2 separate regions of the Homo sapiens genome follow, and region 2 is linked to region 1. Evidence: promoter capture Hi-C in human tissues and cell types (Jung and others, 2019). All regions are on one chromosome and are shown on one strand. The core of a region is centred on a gene start or on the middle of the fragment in contact, and the rest is flanking DNA. Distances in the headings are between cores, read along the strand shown. Region 1 holds the start of MAP1LC3C (microtubule associated protein 1 light chain 3 gamma). Region 2 has its middle 28 kb from the start of EXO1.

Region 1 (2,961 bases), core at 236-2,735:
TGTGGGAAGCCTGACTTATGTCCCATAGATCAGAAGCACAGGGAAAACAAGCTAGGGGCTGGGCGCAGTGGCTCACGCATGAGATCCCAGCTCTTTGGGAGGCCAAGGCAGGAGGATCACAAGGTCAGGAGTTTCAGACCAGCCTAGCCAACATGGCGAAACCCCCTCTCTACTAAAAACACACAAATTAGCCAGGCATGGTGTCATGTGCCTGTAATCCCAGCTACTCGGGAGAAATCGCTTGAACTCAGGAGGCAGAGATTGCAGTGAGCTGAGATCGTGCCACTACATTCCAGCCTGGGCAACAGAGCAAGACTCTGTTTCAAACAAGCAAAAAAACAACAAACACAACTTGGGGCTTGCAATCGGCATTGAAAGTGGGGGACAGTCTTGTGGGACAGAGCCCTCAGCCCGATCTGATGCTGTCTCCAGGTAGACAGTGTCAGAGTTGGATTGGAGGACACCTAGCTGGTGTCCACTGTAGAAGTGATTGCTCGGTGTATGGGGAACCCCCACCCACCCACACACACACACACACATCTAGTGTCAAAAGTGATCTGTGTTGTGAGAATATAGGAGAAATGGAGTTTGGTTTCCCCTATGTATGACCAGAGACCCAGTTTCTTAACTCTAAAAGCAAGATCTTGGGGACAATTGTCCTTCCTTCCTTCTTTTATCCCAGAGAAAACTAAGTGACAGAATATACTGGAGTGTAGTACTTGGACTTCCTTGTAACAACTCTGGGTTTTTTTTGTTTTGTTTTGTTTTGTTTTGAGATGAAGTTTCGCTCTTGTTGCCGAGGCTGGAGTGCAATGGTGTGACCTGAGCTCACTACAACCTCCGCATCCTGGGTTCAAGCGATTCTCTTGCCTCAGCCTCCTGAGTAGGTGGGATTACAGGTGCCAGCCACCACGTCCGGCTAATTTTTGTATTTTTAGTAGAGATGGGGTTTCAGCATGTTGGCCAGGTGATCCACCCGCCTCGGCCTCCCACGTGCTGGGATTACAGGCGTGGGCCACTGCACCCAGTGTACAGCTCTAGGTTTTAATCCATACCGCTTCTCTTACTTGCTGTGTGCCCTCGAGCAAATCACTTCACCTTTCTTAGTATAGGTTTCCTTCTGTGATAAAGGGCATGGACCATTGTGAGAACTACACAGCACACTTCAGGCTGAGGTGGATCCAGCTTGGACCCCCCCTTGCTACTGAAGGGCAAAAACATCCCAGCACAAGGCAGTTTTACCTCTCCACAGTCCGCTGCCCAGCCAATGATTTTATTACAAACCCTAATTTCTTTTGCAAAGAAACATCTTGAACTGGTCATGAACAAAGTGGCTTTCTCTGACCAGCAAGCAGGTGGCGATTCCATTTCCATCAGAACTGACCTCCTGCTGCCCAGGGAGGGGGAGTGGGGAGAGGGGAGGGAGAGGAGAGGCCTGATGTCACTCAGCCCTACATAAGGGCCTCCTTCAGGCTCCTGCAGGCAGTTTGGAAGCAGCTGGAGGAATGAGTTAGGTTCCCGGTTGCGGGACAGTTTTTTTTTCTTTTTTAAAACAGACACAGCTACTGAGTGCAATGCCGCCTCCACAGAAAATCCCAAGCGTCAGACCCTTCAAGCAGAGGAAAAGCTTGGGTAAATTTCTTGGGGTAGCTTTCTGGGTTATCTAAAGAGAGGAGCGGATCTGGCCTTCTCTTGATCTTTGCTTCTTTTCTTGATCTTTGCTTCTTCTCTTGTGCTTGAAATATTCACAGCAATCAGACAAGAGGAAGTTGCTGGAATCCGGGCAAAGTTCCCCAACAAAATCCCGGTAAGACACCACTGGACTTCCGCTGGGGGGCGTGGGGGTGGGGTTCCGATCCTGTTCTCTGAAAAACCAAGAGCAGCCAACAGCTTCCCTCTGTCTGTTCCAAGTTCCTAACACTCACGCTGAGTCACATTCTTAAGGACTGACACTCTTGACAGGTGGTAGTGGAGCGCTACCCCAGGGAGACGTTCCTGCCCCCGCTGGACAAAACCAAGTTCCTGGTCCCGCAGGAGCTGACCATGACCCAGTTCCTCAGCATCATCCGGTAGGTGGCGCAGAGCGTGCCCCGGAGGAAGGTGCGCTGGGTGCGCCGGGGCTGTTGGGCTTTCTTCGTTTGGCAGTTTTATTTTGGGGATGGGGGCACGTCAGGGGAAGAGAGGAAAGAGATTTTTTTGAAGTCACCTTTTAGATTCACTAGTACCCTGAAAAGATGCTCTTAGAATTACTCTATTTTAAACCCCGGGCGGAGTGGCTCATGCCTGTAATCCCAGCACTCTGGGAGGCTGAGGCAGGTGGATCGCAGAGGTCAGGAGTTTGAGACCAGCCTGGCCAACGTGGTGAAACCCTGTCTCTACTAAAAATACAAAAATTAGCTAGGCGTGGTGGCGGGTGCCTGTAATCCTAGCTACTTGGGAGGCTGAGGCAGGAGAATCGCTTGAACCTGGGAGGCGGAGGTTACAGTGAGCCGAGACTGTTCCACTGCACTCCTGGGCAACAAGAGTGAAACTCTGTCTCAAAAAAAAAAAAAAAAAAAAAAGAATTACTCTATTTTAAACAGGTAAGGAGAATCCCTCAGACAACGACAACAACAAAAAAGACCTGCCAACATTTCTAAGAATTTCCTAAAGTAGTTAGTCTTGGCTCTCAAGCTAGGCCGGGAGATCCTTTCTTTCAGATCTTGTGTGAAACCGAGTCTGCGCGTCCGTTGCAGAGACCAGCACCTTTTCCAAGTGTATGTGTGCCTAGGGGTGGGGACTTCTCCCCAAAGGAAACGTTCCCTGCTCAGAACACTGAGAGAGAAAAGCATCCCCCAAACACACTCCTCCCTTGGTTAAGCCAGAGGTACAGCAAAGAACAGGCAGCTATTCTTAAAGCATAAAGGACATCACTTGACACATGGATTCAGTAAAAAATGATTTGGGAGTAAAGTAAATATA
Region 2 (2,867 bases), core at 168-2,667, 180 kb after region 1:
TGTGGACACCATAAAATCGTCACATGGCACTGGTAAGTATGAAGCATGTATTTTTTCTATTGGTCTGATTTCTGATCCAGTTTTACAAATAACCACTGGCAGTATTCCTTACCATTCTGCTCTTCACAAGAACATAAAGTAGTAAAATTAATAAACCCCTTTATTTTAACTCTTGCTTCAGCATATAATTTTCCCCATATGCGGCCAGCTATCTATAAGATGCGCCTAATATCAAGATCCTTTATTTCACATTGTAAAAATCTTTCGTTTTTGCCTTCTTCCAAATGTGTATCTCTTTTTATCTAGGAATAATTAAGTCAGGATGGCAGAACAATAATATTTACAGGCAGTGAACAGAAATGCAGAAGTGGAATTTACTAGCCAAACACTGCATCTGAGTCATTATGCCACAAATAAATTATGTGCATGCATGAGCAATACATAAACTTATTCGTTCAATTTGTTCTGACATCATAAGACATTTTAAGGAAATGTTAGAGACTTTTAGCTCATTTCTATTCATTGAAAAATTGTATTTAGCCACCTGTGCCTCTGTGCTTTCTTCCAGTCTATGGCCTTTTTTTGTAGAAAAAAAAAATTCTAAAAATAGATATGGCATTCCTTTTAAAATCAAATGCCTTCTTCAAAGAAGTTGCCGTAATAGAAATAGTAAGTAGTACAGATGGTATAGCTGTAAATTAAAGTTTATTCTGACTTAGATACCACATGCAATCATCTATTATTTAATAATAGAAAAATGGGGACTGGGACTGGTTATATAAACATGAATCCTTTTAGTTGATCCCTTTCATCTCTACCTATCTGTATTTCTAAATCTTGCAGACCCTGTATGCGTTGTTTTTGTCTTCCTGTTTTTAATGTCATGTGAATTTCCTATAAAAATTGCAGAATTGTTTTCATTCAGCTTAAGACAAATATTTTTTTCTTTCTGAATCCTATACAGATGATGCCTGTAACTGGCAAGAAGAGGCATATATTTGTTACAGGTGGAACGTTTCCCATGCCCATGTGGTACTTGTACTGACTTCCATCATCGCACCTCTAACATGTTGTTGCCCATATCTGATTCTATCTTTGTTTCCTTTCTCAGGCAATAAGTACCTGAAGGGCAGAGACCATCTTTTTTGTTTTTTCCTGTGTATTTCTAGTTTTTCATGCAATATTTCTCGAGAAAATTAATGTCCCATCCCATTCCTTACCTAGTTATTTATACATTGAGAAAAAAACTGATGTCTCTAAGAAAAATATAAATGTAAGCAACTCATAAATAGGTAAGTTAACATTTTGGGGCATCCACAGTATATTACTACTGATAGTTAAAGGAGGTATAAAGAAAACACTAGACATGGTCCCTTTCTTTATGGTACTTCTAGACTATGAAAAGAGAGGGCTCAAAAGCACATGTGTACACAATGTACGAGTATCTATTTACCAAAATAAGTACAGTCATCCTGTACACAAATACAAGCCATACAAATGCAGTCTATTTCACGATTAAGTAGGCAATATTTGTATCATGTGTTATTCCTGAGATATTTTGAATCCCAGCTAGATTTTCTACTGCTACCTAGCAAACTTCTAGCCATTTTCCCCCAACTATCCAGCAGTTATATGTTTAGTAGATGAAACATATCTTCAGTGTTAACCTATAACATAATTCAGAAGGTGTATCCACTATAAAATATAATAAATATTTTCAGTGTCAAATAAAAATAATGTATGGGATATCAGATTCTCTCTACCCTACTTACTAAGATAGCTTGGCTAATTGCAATCTGACCTGAATTCAAAGCTTTTCCTTCCTTACCATTGCTCCCAAGAGCTTATAAATTATTCTGCTCTGTTCTTTCTGTGTTTTCTTTTTCAGCTCTTTCCTCAACACACACACACACACACACACACACACACACACACACTTCACTTACTTTCCCACTCCATTCTCTCACCTAACTTTACTGTGCCTTATCCTTTCTTTTCAGCCTTTTGAAGTATCAGATAGTCTGACAAACTAATCCTTCTGTATGTGTTCACAGGACAGGGATGAAGGTTCTATGTAAAGGCATGTATCAATTTCAACACTTAGGCATCCAGAAACAGCGTTTTCATTGGATGATCCAGTAGGGTGCTATTCAGGGATAATTTTTCAGGTAGCAGTCTGGTGGAGGAACCCCTCAAATGCCACTGTGGAAGATTATTTTCTTAACATATAGGTAGGGTTGAATATCTGGATTCAGGAATGACATGATTGATTTGATACTGGAAGACTTAACAGGCTGGAATAATACTGAACAGCTTTATAAATAGGAACATCCATTTATTTGATTGATGAGAACTGTGCTTACTGCAGACACCATTCACATGCATTGTGACTGAGGCCCTCTTGTCTTGACTGTATCCTGACAGGGTGTCTGACTAGTCATTTCAACAGGTGATTTTTTTGCTGACAAAGAGCACATTCTCAGTTATCCATGAGATGTCTGTCATCGGCTTTTCTTTTATGGTCAGGGAGGTCGAGTGAGGTCCAAATTCAGACCTCAAGGTCTGCCATGTCATAGAGCCTTAGGCTTGGAACTCACCTCACAGATCGTGCAATAAAACCGTAGTCCACGTGGGACCACCTCTACAACCCTTCTCCTTGAACACTAATAATCTGCCAACCAGAGACCAGAATATAACAGCAAGGAATATTTCCTCTCGGTTTCAGTAGAGCCTAATATGCTTCTTTGATCAAGATAAGTATTAACACATCATCTTTCACAAGATGATTTGTCTGTGTACTAATATGTCATGGAGAAGTTATGGTTGCATTATTTGTTCGTCAAATTTACAGTTACCTGTTATATATG

The links. Contacts are between HindIII fragments. The study calls those that stand out against the background at their distance.
Region 2: a contact is called between a fragment that was not itself captured here and the fragment with the promoter of MAP1LC3C in region 1, in 1 of the 25 tissues and cell types used here (aorta).

What each region holds. Positions count from the first base shown.
Region 1 is chr1:241,997,622-242,000,582 of GRCh38, reverse strand. MAP1LC3C (microtubule associated protein 1 light chain 3 gamma) reads left to right here and starts at 1,485. Exons shown (of 4, transcript NM_001004343.3): 1 at 1,485-1,632; 2 at 1,752-1,807; 3 at 1,963-2,069. The coding sequence starts at 1,575. RefSeq lists an enhancer at 975-1,500. The HindIII fragment of the contact is 15,931 bases long and covers 1-2,961 here.
Region 2 is chr1:241,819,084-241,821,950 of GRCh38, reverse strand. No RefSeq gene overlaps it. Among named protein-coding and RNA genes, the nearest start is that of EXO1, 28 kb to the left of the region's middle. The HindIII fragment of the contact is 3,695 bases long and covers 1-2,867 here.